Regions from separate parts of the Homo sapiens genome. Here region 1 is linked to region 2. The links are contacts of gene promoters, found by promoter capture Hi-C in blood cells and fetal thymus (Javierre and others, 2016). All regions are on one chromosome and are shown on one strand. Each heading gives the region's core, a stretch centred on a gene start or on the middle of the fragment in contact. The rest is flanking DNA. Distances are from core to core; before and after follow the strand shown.

Region 1 (7,597 bases), core at 4,419-6,918, 260 kb after region 2:
CTGTGAGGTGGGGGTGGAATGAGTCCAGATCGTGCTACTGCACTCCAGCCTGGGTGACAAAGCGAGACTCTGTCTCAGGAAAAAAAAAGAACCAAAACCATATATATGGCTATCTCATCAATCAGAACCACAACAACTATAAAACAACTATATTTAAGGTTTTTTGCAAAAAAAAAAGTTAAAGAAAATATTAAGTAAATAATAGATCATTTGCTTCAAGATTTGGCAAATGTAAGGATAGGAAACGCTGTTCTATGTTATCCTGCTTGGCCTTTTTTCCAACTTCTCAGAGGCGTTCTGCCTTCAAACTCCCTCTTGAGGAAAATAAACACCCACAAAGATTTTTGCATCATCTGCAAATATGATTCAAATAAAGCCTTGAGCTCAAATATAATCCAGGCTTCCTCAGCTGGGAAGGACAGGCATCTCGAGTCCAAGCCTTTCCTGGTATTTCACCTCTGTCTTCATGGTTTTATGGGGTTTTATTGGGTCTGTCCCTCCTCTGGAAAGCCACCACAAATCCGATTTCTGAGAGAACAAGATATAAATAATAAACAGAATGACTCCTTGAGATTTCTTGTCCTTGTGAGGAATTTTCAAACGTTCCTAAGACATGAAATCTTTTCGTTTAAACAAGAGTTTGGGAGTCCGTCATGAGAACTGGATAAATAATGGCCCAGTGACACAGGGACATATGTCAGAGCCTTTGTTCAAAGAAATAAAGTAGCTCAATATGTGCCGATAGCAAAAGGCGCCTGGGATCTATCGTGATGCGAGAACAGCAAGGTACAGAACAATATGTGCGAGGTACAGAACCATATCTGCAGACTTTTTCTGTAAAGGGCTGCATAGAAAATCCTTTGGGCATTGCAAGCCGTACTGTCTCTGTTGCAGCTGCTCAGCTCTGCCATCGTGGCATGAAAGCAATCATAGATAGCGCACAAAGCAGCTGGGCTGTGTATCAATAAAACTTTATCTATGGACACAGATGTACATTGCATATAATTTTTGTGTGTCATAAAGCATTCTTCTTTCTTTTTTTTTTTTTTTTGAGACAGAGTCTCACTGTGTATCACAGGCTGGAGTGCAGTGGCGTGATCTTGGCTCACTGCAACCTCCGCCTCCTGGGTTCAAGTAATTCTCGTGCTTCAGCCTCCCGAGTAGCTGGGACTATAGGCATGCAGCCACCACACCCAGCTAATTTTTGCATTTTTAGTAGAGACAGGGTTTCGCCATGTTGGCCGGGCTGGTCTCAAACTCCTGACCTCAAGTGATTTGCCTGCCTCGGCCTCCTAAAGCGCTGGGATTACAGGTGTGAGCCACTACACCTGGCCTCAATTTTGTTTTGTTTTGAGACGGGGTCTCACTCTGTCACCCAGGCCAGAGTGCAGCTGTACCATCACAGCTCACTGCAGCCTCAACCTCCCTGGGCTCAGGTGATCCTCCTGCCTCAGCCTCCTGTGTAGCTGGGACTATAGGCATGTGCCACCACCCCCAGCCAATTTTTGTATTTTTTGTAGAGATGGAGTCTCCTTATGTTGCCCAGGCTGGGCTCAAACTGCTAGGCTCAAGTGATCTGCCCGCCTCAGCCTTCCAAAGTGTTGAGACTATAGGCATGAGACACCGTGCCTGGCCTTTCTTTCAAATTTTAAAAATCATTTAAAAATGTAAAAACCAGCCGGGCATGGTGGCTCATGCCTGTAATCCCAGCACTTTGGGAGGCTGAGGTGGGTGGATCTCCTGAGTTCAGGAGTTTGAGACCAGCCTGACCAACATGGTGAAACCCCGTCTCTACTAAATACAAAAAATTAGCTGGGTGTTGGGGTGCATGCCTGTAATCCCAGCTACTTGTGAGGCTGAGGCAGGAGAATCACTTGAACCCAGGAAGGGGAGGTTGCAGTGAGCCCAGATTGCGCCATTGTACTCCAGCCTTGGTAACAGGAGTGAAATTCTGTGTCAAAAAAAAAAAGTAAAAACCATTCGTAGCTTGCAGGCCATACAGAATAGTGAGACAGATTTGGCTTGAGGACGATAATTTGCCAATCCATCTATAAACCTCTGATGCATAACAAAATTGTAGAGAAACACCAGAAGTATAGAGAGGCATGCTACACGTGCGTGTGTGCACGTGCGTGTGTGTGTGTGTGTGTGTGTCTGTGTGTGTACAGCTGGCTCTCCATACCCATGGGTTCCACCCATCCGTAGATTCAACCAGTCATGGATCAAAAACATTCAAAGACGCTGGGCGTGGTGGCTGTAATCCCAGCACTTTGGGAGGCCGATGCTGGTGGATCATGAGGTCAGGGGTTCAAGACCAGCCTGGGCAACATGGTGAAACCCCGTCTCTACTAAAAATACACGGTGGCATGTGCCTGTAATTTCAGCTACTTGGGAGGCTGAGGCAGGAGAATTGCTTGAACCGGGACCCGGGAGGCAGAGGTTGCAGTGAGCCGAGCTCCAGCCTGGGCTACAGAGCGAGACTCTGTCTAAAAAAAAAAAAAAAAAAATCAAAGAGGCCGGGCACAGTGGCTCATGCCCGTAATCCCAGCACTTTGGGAGACCAAAGTGGTGGATCACCTGAGGTTAGGAGTTCGAGACCAGCTTGGCCAACATGGTGAAACCCCATCTCTACCAAAAATATAAAAAATTAGTCAGTGTGGTGGCACACGCCTGTAATCCCAGCTATTCAGGAGGCTCAGGCAGGAGAATCACTTGAACCTGGGAGGCAGAGGTTGCAGTGAGCCGAGAGCTTGCCACTGCACTCCAGCCTGGGTGACCGAGTAAGACTGTCTCAAAAAAAAAAAAAAAAATATATATATATATATATTCAAAGAAGAAATGTGTCTGTACTAAGCATGTACAGACTTTTTCTTGTCATTATTCACTAAACAATACATTAAAACCACTATTTACATTGGATTTACATTGCATTACATATTATAAATAATCTAGAGATGATTTGAAGTGTACAGGGGGATGTGCCTAAGTTATATACAAATGTTACTTTATTTTACATAAGGGACTCAAGCATCTAAAGATTGTGATATCTGTGGAAGGTCCTAGAATCAATCCCCAAGGATACCAGGGACAACTGGAGAGAGAAGCGGGGAGAGAGAGACAGATATTTGTTTATATCTCTAAAAGGACACACTAACAACTGGCAACAAGAGGTGCTTCTGAAGAGGGGAACTGGGAAATGTCAGAGGAAATGAGAAGGAAGATATTTTGCACGACATGGCCTTTTACACTGCTTGAGTTTTTCTCCACATGCTTGTGTTACTTTTACAAAGCAGAAAACATTTGCCAAAGGATTACTATGCCACAGACAATAAAAATGAGACGCTATAAACAAATATACACAGTCATGCATCACATAATGACATTGGTCAATGATGGACCACATATACGACCGTGGTCCTGTAAGACTGTAAGGCGGTATTTGTACTGTATGCTCTCTACGTTTAGGTATGTTTAGAGACAGATACTTCCCATTGTGTTACCATTGCCTACAGCAGGGGTCCCCAACCCTCCAAGGTACCAGTCCGTGGCCTATTAGGAACTGGGCTGCACGGCAGGAGGTGAGTGACAGGTGAGTGAGCAAAGCTTCATCTGTATTGACAGCCACTTCCCATCACTCGCATTACCACCTGAGCTCCACCTCCTGTCAGACTGGTGGTGCCATTAGATTCTCATAGGAGCTCGAACCCTATTGTGAACTGCCCATGTGAGGGATCTTGATTGTGTGCTTCTTATGAGAATCTAACGCCTGATGATCTGTCGCTGTCTCCCATCACCCTCAGATGGGATCGTCTAGTTGCAGGAAAACAAGCTTAGGGCTCTCACTGATTCTACGTGAAGGTGAGTTGTATAATTATTTCGTTATATATTACACTGTAATAATTGTAGAAATAAAGCACACAATAAATGTAATGCACCTGAATCGTCCCGGAACCATCCCCCTCACACTGGTTTTTGGAAAAAAATTTCTTCCACGAAACCGGTCCCTGGTGCCAAAAAGGTTGGGGACCGCTGGCCTACAGTTTTCAGTACAGTCACGTGCTGTACAGGTTTGCAGCCCGGGAGCCACAGGCTCCACCGTGTAGCCTGGGTGTGTAGTAGGCTATGCCATCTAGGCTTGTGTGAGTACACTCCGATGTTCTCGTCATGACGAAATCACCTAACAACACACTTCTCAAAACATAGCCCTGTCATTAAGGGACGCGTGACTTCACAGGCAATCACAGCACAACTTCAGCGGGTGCCGTTCATTGGGCCATTTGTAGAATGGAGCCATTGGAGTTGTGAGGGCACACCCCATGTGGCAGCCCTGTTGGTAACAAAACTAACACCAAGAGTTTCTATGAAGTGAAATTTGTGAGTAAATATTAAAGAAGTAGGGTCGGAGTGGAAGTTGTGGGAGGGGAATAAAATCTCACTCTTTCCGTTTTATGCTATTCCTTATCAGGACCACAATAAAGCCAATCTTCTGCCAATATTTACTTTTGATTTTTTTCTCCAGAGTGGAAGAAAAATGCCCAGGCCTGGCAGGAATAGGAGAGTAGGATTGAAAGTTGAAACAAGAGCAGGAAGCTCACCCGGAAATAAAATCATTTCCAGAACCTCACAATGAAAATGACACTTATTTCACAGAAACACTCAAAGGCTGACTCCACTTACGAGACTCCTCTCTTGTAACCCCAGTCAGCTTTCCCAGATATCTTGGGATTCCATGAAACCCACTGCAAGCATTTTGACCCAGGTTGGAGGCCTCAAACAGCAGTCTCCCACCTAAGAACATGGAAGATGTGGATTTTTGGTCAGCAGTGGTTTCAAAATCAAGACATTTCATGTAAATGCAGGAGTTTCTGGCTTCCCTTGAAACTCTTGGCTCTCTGGCCGCCCTGAGCCCACATTCCCACGTGGAAACTTCAGGCTGCCGTCAAACGGTAGTTGCTCCTTCCAGATGGGGCAAGGGCTCCCCGTTTGCCACAGTCCCCACCACTCCCTGTCGCCCTCCATCAGGACCACTTCACTCAATTCTTTTTTTCATTTGTACTTCATTCACTCAACCAAGATTTATTGAGCACTTACTATGTGCCAGAAAGCTGCAAACAAAACTGACACAAATTCCTCCTTCATGCAACTTATATTCTGGCTGGTGAGGCAATGAAGAAAAAGAAGGAAAAGCATAAATTCCAGAGGGTGGTAAGTTCTGCTGACAGTGAAAATAGTGCTGCAAAGGTGGAGAAGGCATGCTGGGTGTGGTCAAGGAAGGCCTTAGGAGGAAGGTACATTTGAGCAAAGATCTGAAGCTGGTAAGGACAGCAAGCCTTCAGGATATCTGTGGAAAGAACAGTCCAGCCAGCAAGAACAGCAAGTGCAAAGGTCCTGGGGCAGGACTGCTCCTTGTGTGTCTGTGAAGCAGCAAGAAGGCCAGTGCAGCTGGAGAAGAGTGAGTGAGGGGAAGGGGGTGGAAATGAGGTCAGAGAGGGGATGAGGTATCAATCTTGCAGGGCCTCATAGGATCTTTGGCTTTTACTCTAAGTGAGGTGGGAGCCGTGGAGGATTCTGAGCAGAGGCAATGTGGTTGTATGGGTGATAGACTCCCTCTAGCTACATGTGGAGACTGGACTGTGTGTGCGAAGCGGGTGGGGTGGGATGGAGGAGAAAGGTGGAAGCTAAGAGGCCAGCAAGGACCCACTGCAGTGGTCCGGGTGCAGGGTGGCAGTGGCAGGACAGGGCGGTGGCTATGGAGGTGGTGACAAGAGGTTGGAGTCTGGACATACTGTGTTTCCCGGCTCTTTTTTTTTTTTTTTTTTTTTGAGACAGAGTTTCGATCTTGTTGCCCAGGCTGGAGTGCAATGGCACGATCTCGGCTCACCAAAACCTCCCTCTCCCAGGTTCAAGTGATTCTCCTGCCTCAGCCTCCTGAGTAGCTGGGATTACAGGCATGCGCCACCATGCCTGGCTAATTTTTGTAGTTTTAGTAGAGATGGAGTTTCTCCATGTTGGTCAGGCTGGTCTCGAACCCCTGACCTCAAGTGATCCTCCCGCCTTGACCTCCCAAAGTGCTGGGATTACAGGCATGAGCCACCGTGCCTGGCCTTCTTCTTCTTTTTTTTCTTTTTTGAGACGGAGTCTTACTGTGATGCCCAGGCTGGAGTGCAATGGTGCAATCTTGGCTCACTGCAAACTCCCCTTCCCAAGTTCAAGCGATTTTTCTGCCTCAGCCTCCCAAGAAGCTGGGACTACAGGTGTGCACCACCATACCTGGCTAATTTTTGTATTTTTAATAGAGGCGGGGTTTCACCATATTGGCCAGGCTGATCTCAAACTCCTGACCTCAGGTGATCCTCTGGCCTTGGCCTCCCAAAGTGCTGGGATTACAGGCCTGAGCCAACATGCCTGGCCTGTTTCCCAACTCCTTTTGGCACTTAGGAGAAACTCCCCTCACTCACTCTCCTCCAGCCACATTGTGCTTGCATGATCCAACCTCAGGGCCTTTGCACTTGCTGTTCCCTCTGCCCTGCACACGCCGCCCCCAGATATTCCCAAGGCTTCCTCCCTCCCTTCTCAGGGCTAAAGCTGCTGAAACAGCCCACATTCCTGACATTCTCCTCCCTTGCTCTGCTGGGTTGGTCACTACAGTGAACTTCCTGGCCTCAATATACAGGAGACGTTTTTTCTTGTTGTTGAGTTGTCTATCTCCTGCCGTAGGGCATCAGCTTGAGGAGGGAACCAGTGATGTCTCTTTTTTTTTTTTAAACAGAGTCTCACTCTGTTGCCCAGGCTGGAGTGAAGTGGCACAATCTTGGCTCACTGCAACCTCCACCTCCTGGGTTCAAGTGCTTTAGCCTCCTGAGTAACTGGGATTACAGGTGTAAGCCACCACACCTGGCAATTTTTTTTTTTTTTAGTAGACATGGGGTTTCACCATGTTGGCCCGGCTGGTCTCGAACTCCTGGCCTCAAGCGATCTGCCCACCTAACCCTCCCAAAGTGCTGAGATTACAGGCATGAGCCACCGCGCCTGGCCAGCAATGATTTCTCTCGTTCACTGCTGTATCCCCGAGTCTAACTATGCCTGGAGCAGAGTAGTCCATCAGTGGGACTTGTAGAAAGAATGAGAGAAGGCGTCAGAGATTGATTTTGTTTCTGCCACTCATTAGTGTATGACCTGTGCAAATGGCTCCTCCCTCCATCCCCAGTATCCTCTTCTATAAAATGGGTCTCTCTACATAACCTCTGTAGGGCTGTTGTGAGAATCTGGGAAGCCTACGGCAAAAAGCCTTTAGCACCATTCAGGGATCTTCGAAGCTGTCCGTGTTAGGTGTTGCTATGAACCTTAGGAGGGAATGAGAGGATAGCTGGAAGAGAGTCACCCCCGCAGAGGCCAAGAAGGAAGAGAGAAACACGTTTGTCCTAAGATGGGACAAGGCTGTTTTTTCCAGTATTTTCAGTAAGAAAACGAAAGAGCATCCAAGAATCTCAGGGCACAGTCCAGGCTGCAAGCTTCTTGGCTGTCTGGCCTCTGCCCATCTTTCCTGCTCTCTGCTCCAGCCTATAGCTCCCTTCCCCGCAGCCCTGTGAGCCCCTCA
Region 2 (7,455 bases), core at 3,754-6,253:
GATCTCTACAAAACATTAAAAAATCAGCTGGGTGTGGTGGCATGCCCCTGTGGTCCCAGCTACTTGGGAGGTTGAGGTGGGAGGATCACCTGAGCCCAAGAAGCAGAGGCTGCAGTGAGCAGAGATCGTGCCACTGCACTCCAGCAGTGAGACCCTGTCTCAAAAAACAAACAAACAAAAAACCCCAGAAAACAAAAAATCAAATCTCCCAGAACTCCTGCTCTGCTCCCCTGCTGTATTTTCCTCCATAGTGCTGACCAGAATCTAATACAATCTATACTTTAATCATTGATCTTGTTTAGTGCTTGTCTTCCCCCAGGAGAATTTCAGCTCCACGAGAACAGGAATTGCTTGTCTTGTCCATGAATGTGTCTTTAGGGCCAGAATTACAGCATGTGCCAAGGAACATTCGATAAATGTGAAGGTTGAGCACTGTTTTCTGTTCGTTGGACACTCTGGTTCCTCTCGGCGGCCTGCTGATGCCCTGTGTGCATCTATCACATCCATGGCACCGGCCTTTCCTGATCCCAGAGCAAGGGCGCCCAGCGGATCTTCACGCATGTGAATGGCTCCTGCAGTCCCAGAACCTGCCACCTGGGGGCAGTATATACTCAGGCAAGTTTCACTACCGGTCCTGAGCACCTCCCGTCTCCAAAATCCTGGATCTCAGAACCTCGGAGCCTGGCAGCCCTTGGGGATCTATCTCTGCCAGCCCCACTTGGCAGATGGGGAAACTGAGGCCTCAGAGAGGAGGCATGATGGGGAAAATCTCAAACATTGGAATCAGGGAATCTGGCTTTTAAGTCTGGCTCTTGTACCCATTCACAAGGGTACAAGGGGGATTTGGAGGGGGAAGTAGGAAGTTCTAATCCTCTTCGGGCCTCAGTTTCCCCATCTGCCTGCTTTGTGGGGTGAAAGGGACATCTGATTAACTCTAATGTGTCGGGGAAGGCCAGCAGTGAGGGGTAACAGCAGGCCCAGAATCCCAGATAGAATATTATCACCTCATTTTATATACCAGGGACTGAGGCCCAGAGGGGACACCAGACACGGCCGGAGAGCCACAGCATGGAAGGCACAGGGCAGCATGAAAGGCCATCCCCCTGCCATCCCCCTGCCCCACGCCCACTAGAGACACCCCCCCATTCATGTTCTGATGGTTCACCTCTCCGCCATATTTTCCCACCTGCTGGCTGATTTCTAAGCCCTTTTGCAGAACACTCTCTGTCAAAGCAGCCACGTGGATCTCCCCTTGGCAAATCGCCTCAGTTTTCTCCTCTTGAAAATGGGATAGGGAAAAGCTGCAGAGATGGGGAGGAGGAATTGTGAAAAGCAGTTTGGGGGCAGAGGAGGACGTGTGTCCCAGGTAGGAAAGTGCCTGTTCCCTCCCCGCCCCCGCCTGGCTCCTGCCCACCACCATGTGGCCACGTGGGCCCAGCCCACAGCTTCAGGTTTTAAAAGAGGAGCTGGAAATTTGAATTTTGATGTGAAATCTCCTGATTTTTAAATGTTGGCAATAAATTCACTTAAACACACACACATCAAGCAAAACGCTATGGGGTCAAATTGAACACATCTGTGGTCTCGATTTGGCCACTGGCTGCCAGTTTGAGATCCTTTCCGGCTCTAGGTTCTGAGGGCAGGTGACTGGGAGAGGTGGCGCCAGGGGGATCCTGGTTTCCTGTGCCCACACAGCCACTCACGTACTCTGGGCCTCTGGGCCGTGGTGGTTCAAGCTCCCACCATCCCCACTTCTTGGGGAAAGGCTGAACAGTACTGGGGTGGGGGTGGGGGAGCAGCAGGCGGGGCCTGTTGAGCAAGAGCCTTGTAAAAACAAGGGCTTACGTCATCCTAGCTTGCAGCTTCCCTGCAGGACACCTGGGTCGGCACCGGGGTGGGACCTGCGCTGAGAAGGGATGGGTCATCCCCAGCAGGGGGTGGAGGGTGGGGAAGGGTGGCAAGCATGTTCCACCCCAGAGGCCAGAGGGCCTAGACCCCTGCTGGGGCTGAGTCTGGTCTTTGGGGGCTGGCCTGCAAGGTCCGAGTAACACCTTAACGCACTGTGTGACCCCAGGTCTACCCTTCTCTGTGCCTCAGTTCTTCTATCCAGAAGATGGGACTCACATTGCCAGGCCTGTTATGACAAACCCAAGAGGGAAAGTCAGACTGGAAAGATTTTATTCCTTCTCATCCTTTCATGTGACCTGGAGCAGACACACTTAGCTCTTCTGGGCCTCAGTTTCCTCATCTATAAAGTGGAGATAATGATAAGACTGTGGCCTGGCGCAGCGGCTCACACCTGTAATCTCAGCACTTTGGGAGGCTGAGGCAAGAGGGCCACTTGAGGCCAGGCGTTCGAGAAAAGCCTGAGCAACAGAGTGAGACATATCCATCTCTACAAAACATTGAAAAATATGAAAAAAGAAGAAGAAAAAAGACCTGCCTCCTACAAATTATCAGTAGGATTAAATGAGTTAATACATGCAAAGAGCTTGGAATGTGGTTCAGAGAAGGTGGAAGTTTGGCCTAAGAACACACAGCAAATCCTCCAATTAGCTTCAGTTCCCCCATATCTCCCTGCATCTCTTCAGAATCCAGAAAGGGAACGTGGGCGAGTGCTTTGGTTCAGAGAGGGGAGCCATTTTGCCTAAGGTCACACAGCCCAGCTAACGAGGAACCTCTCCTTCTTCTCAGCCTCCTCCATTTATTCACTCACCATTCATCGAGCACCTTCTATGTACCAGGCTCTGTTCTAGGCACCAGGGACACAGTAGTGAAGGCCGTGGGGACAGACAGCAAGACTGGCAGGCAAGATAATTCTGATTATAATGAGAATGGTGACGGAAATGAAGCAGGGGTGTGAGAGGAGTGACTGAGGGCCTAGACTTCCCATGGGAAGGTCAGGGAGGGTTTCCCGGAGGAGGCAGCTTTTGGGCTGAGACCTGAGGAGCTGCCTTGGGCAGAGGTGGGGTGACAGTGTTCTTGGTGCACAGGGAACAGCAAATGCATTCCTTCACTGGTAAATGTTGAGCGTGCTGTGCTCAGGAGTCCCTCGTGGGCCAGCCCTCCCCAAGTGGCAGCCTGCAGGGAGACTGAGGTAGACAGCTAGGATAATGGTGGCTGGCGATAGGGAAGGAAATTCACTAGCAGGTGGGACAGGGAGGGCCTCTCAGAAGCCGTGGCCTCTAGCTCAGCCCTGAGTGTCCCATTTTGCAGTGAGGAAGGGCTGGCCGGGTGGCCCTAGGGAAGCTGCCGCACCCCTCTGGGCCTTGATCCCTCCCCAACCCAGAGGCTGCTGGGAAGACCCAGAAAGCCAGCAGGCTGGGCCAGTGTTTTATCCCCTCCCTCCCTGCCTCCTACCCACCAAGGGTGCCCAGAGATGTCATTTCTCCAGCTCTTGGGGGCGGAGGTCACCCCAGCTCAGCAGATAACACCAAAGGTTGAGCAATGCCCGCCTGCCCGCTGGGGCCAGGGCTGGGGTCAGTGGGCTGGGGATCAGCCCCGGGCAGGCTGGGAGCTCCTGCCTAGGTGGCCTGGGCTAGGAGTGGCAGAGAGGTGGGCCCAGGGAGCTGCCCCAATGGCCTAGGAATGGGTCCGGGAGGGCAAAGGGCCCTCTAACCTGAGCCTACCCAGCAGAGGCGGGCAAGTGGTCAGAAGGCCTTGGGCCTGTGTTCAAGTCCAGGCGGGCCGTTGTCGCTTTCCCGTCTGTGAAATGGCAGCAGCAAAAGCATCTTCCTGGTGGGGTGAAAAAAGTTGAACCTCGGGGTGCAGGCCCACCGTAAGCACAGGGCAGGGACTTGGTAAAAACTTATCTTTCTCTTTCCTTCTCTTTCCTGCATACCACCCCCTCCCGTGAGGCCTCGCTTAAGTCCCTCCCTAGCAACTTCAGAAACAGAAGTTTTTGGCCTCTGGGACTGGCAATAGGTCTTAGGGCTCAGATGAGGGCATTTCATTTGGGATGAATGGGGGACATGCGGCCATGTGACCTTGGTATGCCACGCCATGCTCTCTCTGGGCCTCCACTGGCACAATCCGTGGGGGTCCCGTTCTCTCTGATGTGCAGCCCACAACGTAAGCCTTAGGTTTGGGAGTCTGGTGGGAACAATGCCACCACCACTGACAGTAGCGACACCCTTCATGGATTGCAGCTGGGAGAAGTGAAGTGACTCACCCAAGGTCACACAGTGTGGCAGGGCCGAGCACCCCCCGCCCCTGCCCCATCCCAGGGCCCAGGTCGGGTGGCGCAGCGCGGGGCAAGAGAAGACCCGGGCGTGTCCAAGCCTCGAGCAGGCGGCAGGTGTGGTGGGCGGGGCTAGGGGCGGGGCTCCGTGGACCAGGGTCCAGCCCCAAGCGGGGCGCGATCCTGCCCGGTCGCGCCGACCCCCGGGGTCCTCATATTGTCTGTGGCTTAAGAGGGGAGTCGTCACAGGCGTCAAGTCTTCTTTCTAAAGCCGGGGACCTGGGGAGGAGGTGGGAGTTTACGGGAGGAAGGGCCACGGAGATGGGTCGCTTCTCCTGGAGCTAGAGCTGCGGGCTGGGGTCTCCAGGGTTCGGCCCGGGGAGCCGACCCTGGTCGGCCGTCGGGGCTCTGCTCGGCCCTCCTGAAACCTCCGCCTCCTCCAGCAGGGGGCGGGCCGGGGCCGCGTCTCGGGGGGAAGGCGATCAGGTCGCCCCCTCCTCCGATTCCCCCGCCTTCCAGGACAGCCTCCAGCCCAGAGGGGCGGTCCGGGGGCGGGGTCGCACCGCCCCCTCTCGCTCCCAATCCCGGGGCGGCCGGGCGGGGGTGGGCAGGGGGCGTGAGGCCGCCCCTGCGTCCCGGGGGCCCCCCGAAAACGCGCTCCGGGTGCCCGGTCCCTCCGCTGCGCCCTGCCGCCGTCCTCCCGGGGGTCTCGGGCGGCCGCGGCCGTGTCCTTCGCGTCCCGGCGGCGCGGCGGGAGGGGCCGGCGTGACGCAGCGGTTGCTACGGGCCGCCCTTATAAATAACCGGGCTCAGGAGAAACTTTAGCGAGTCAGAGCCGCGCACGGGACTGGGAAGGGGACCCACCCGAGGGTCCAGCCACCAGCCCCCTCACTAATAGCGGCCACCCCGGCAGCGGCGGCAGCAGCAGCAGCGACGCAGCGGCGACAGCTCAGAGCAGGGAGGCCGCGCCACCTGCGGGCCGGCCGGAGCGGGCAGCCCCAGGCCCCCTCCCCGGGCACCCGCGTTCATGCAACGCCTGGTGGCCTGGGACCCAGCATGTCTCCCCCTGCCGCCGCCGCCGCCTGCCTTTAAATCCATGGAAGTGGCCAACTTCTACTACGAGGCGGACTGCTTGGCTGCTGCGTACGGCGGCAAGGCGGCCCCCGCGGCGCCCCCCGCGGCCAGACCCGGGCCGCGCCCCCCCGCCGGCGAGCTGGGCAGCATCGGCGACCACGAGCGCGCCATCGACTTCAGCCCGTACCTGGAGCCGCTGGGCGCGCCGCAGGCCCCGGCGCCCGCCACGGCCACGGACACCTTCGAGGCGGCTCCGCCCGCGCCCGCCCCCGCGCCCGCCTCCTCCGGGCAGCACCACGACTTCCTCTCCGACCTCTTCTCCGACGACTACGGGGGCAAGAACTGCAAGAAGCCGGCCGAGTACGGCTACGTGAGCCTGGGGCGCCTGGGGGCCGCCAAGGGCGCGCTGCACCCCGGCTGCTTCGCGCCCCTGCACCCACCGCCCCCGCCGCCGCCGCCGCCCGCCGAGCTCAAGGCGGAGCCGGGCTTCGAGCCCGCGGACTGCAAGCGGAAGGAGGAGGCCGGGGCGCCGGGCGGCGGCGCAGGCATGGCGGCGGGCTTCCCGTACGCGCTGCGCGCTTACCTCGGCTACCAGGCGGTGCCGAGCGGCAGCAGCGGGAGCCTCTCCACGTCCTCCTCGTCCAGCCCGCCCGGCACGCCGAGCCCCGCTGACGCCAAGGCGCCCCCGACCGCCTGCTACGCGGGGGCCGCGCCGGCGCCCTCGCAGGTCAAGAGCAAGGCCAAGAAGACCGTGGACAAGCACAGCGACGAGTACAAGATCCGGCGCGAGCGCAACAACATCGCCGTGCGCAAGAGCCGCGACAAGGCCAAGATGCGCAACCTGGAGACGCAGCACAAGGTCCTGGAGCTCACGGCCGAGAACGAGCGGCTGCAGAAGAAGGTGGAGCAGCTGTCGCGCGAGCTCAGCACCCTGCGGAACTTGTTCAAGCAGCTGCCCGAGCCCCTGCTCGCCTCCTCCGGCCACTGCTAGCGCGGCCCCCGCGCGCGTCCCCCTGCCGGCCGGGGCTGAGACTCCGGGGAGCGCCCGCGCCCGCGCCCTCGCCCCCGCCCCCGGCGGCGCCGGCAAAACTTTGGCACTGGGGCACTTGGCAGCGCGGGGAGCCCGTCGGTAATTTTAATATTTTATTATATATATATATCTATATTTTTGTCCAAACCAACCGCACATGCAGATGGGGCTCCCGCCCGTGGTGTTATTTAAAGAAGAAACGTCTATGTGTACAGATGAATGATAAACTCTCTGCTTCTCCCTCTGCCCCTCTCCAGGCGCCGGCGGGCGGGCCGGTTTCGAAGTTGATGCAATCGGTTTAAACATGGCTGAACGCGTGTGTACACGGGACTGACGCAACCCACGTGTAACTGTCAGCCGGGCCCTGAGTAATCGCTTAAAGATGTTCCTACGGGCTTGTTGCTGTTGATGTTTTGTTTTGTTTTGTTTTTTGGTCTTTTTTTGTATTATAAAAAATAATCTATTTCTATGAGAAAAGAGGCGTCTGTATATTTTGGGAATCTTTTCCGTTTCAAGCATTAAGAACACTTTTAATAAACTTTTTTTTGAGAATGGTTACAAAGCCTTTTGGGGGCAGTAATTGGCTTTTGTTTTTTATTTTTTTACTTTATTTTGGATTTGTAGGATTTTGTTTTTGCGTTTCTGGTGTGTAGGGGGTTGTGTGTGGGGGGCTGCTGTTATTTTTGGAGGTTTTGGTGGTTGGGTGGGGGTGTTGCAGCTGGTTTTTCTGCCTCCTCTGCTACTCCCCCTCCCACACACACAGGGTCTGCTTGAGATGGGGTTCCAGCCCCGGGGGAAAGGGGAGAAGAGTAATGGGTCAGGCATTCAGGCTGACTCAGAGCCCCTAGGCGCCGGGACGGGTGGCTGGGAACCCTGCTTGAGAAGAGATTCCGGAGCCTCTGGCTGGTCCCGAGTGTCAGGCTTGGGTTTGGAAGGGCTGGGAGGTCTGTGACCCCTGCCCTGTGTTTGGGGACTAGGTAGGCAGGCCTGTGACTGTAGGAGGAGGGGGTTCAGGTCTTGGTCCTGCTGAGCCCGAGTCAGGGCAGATGCTTTTGGTCAGTGTAGTGGGGTGGGTTGTTTAAAACACAGTTTGTGTATACATGTGTATTTTAAAGAGGGGAGCCTGGGTGTGTGGGCGAGTCTGTGTTTGTGTGTCCCTGGCCAGCAGGAG

What was found. Contacts are between HindIII fragments. The CHiCAGO score rates a contact against its expected background, and 5 or more counts as called.
Region 1: a contact is called between a fragment that was not itself captured here and the fragment with the promoter of CEBPB in region 2, in 15 of 17 cell types (monocytes, neutrophils, naive CD4 T cells and 12 more). The highest score is 18.0, in monocytes.

The regions. Positions count from the first base shown.
Region 1 is chr20:50,442,356-50,449,952 of GRCh38, forward strand. No RefSeq gene overlaps it. Among named protein-coding and RNA genes, the nearest start is that of PTPN1, 64 kb to the right of the region's middle. RefSeq lists an enhancer at 6,169-7,134. The HindIII fragment of the contact is 3,682 bases long and covers 3,828-7,509 here.
Region 2 is chr20:50,185,827-50,193,281 of GRCh38, forward strand. CEBPB (CCAAT enhancer binding protein beta) reads left to right here and starts at 5,004. Exons shown (of 1, transcript NM_005194.4): 1 at 5,004-6,842. The coding sequence starts at 5,208. The coding sequence ends at 6,245. CEBPB-AS1 (CEBPB antisense RNA 1) reads right to left here and starts at 6,243. Exons shown (of 7, transcript NR_125739.1): 1 at 5,838-6,243; 2 at 5,442-5,596; 3 at 4,172-4,459; 4 at 3,630-3,735; 5 at 2,717-2,801; 6 at 1,187-1,301; 7 at 1-594. RefSeq lists an enhancer at 769-858 and silencers at 4,537-4,946, 4,906-5,200, 5,027-5,236, 5,377-5,816, 6,237-6,346. The HindIII fragment of the contact is 16,423 bases long and covers 1-7,455 here.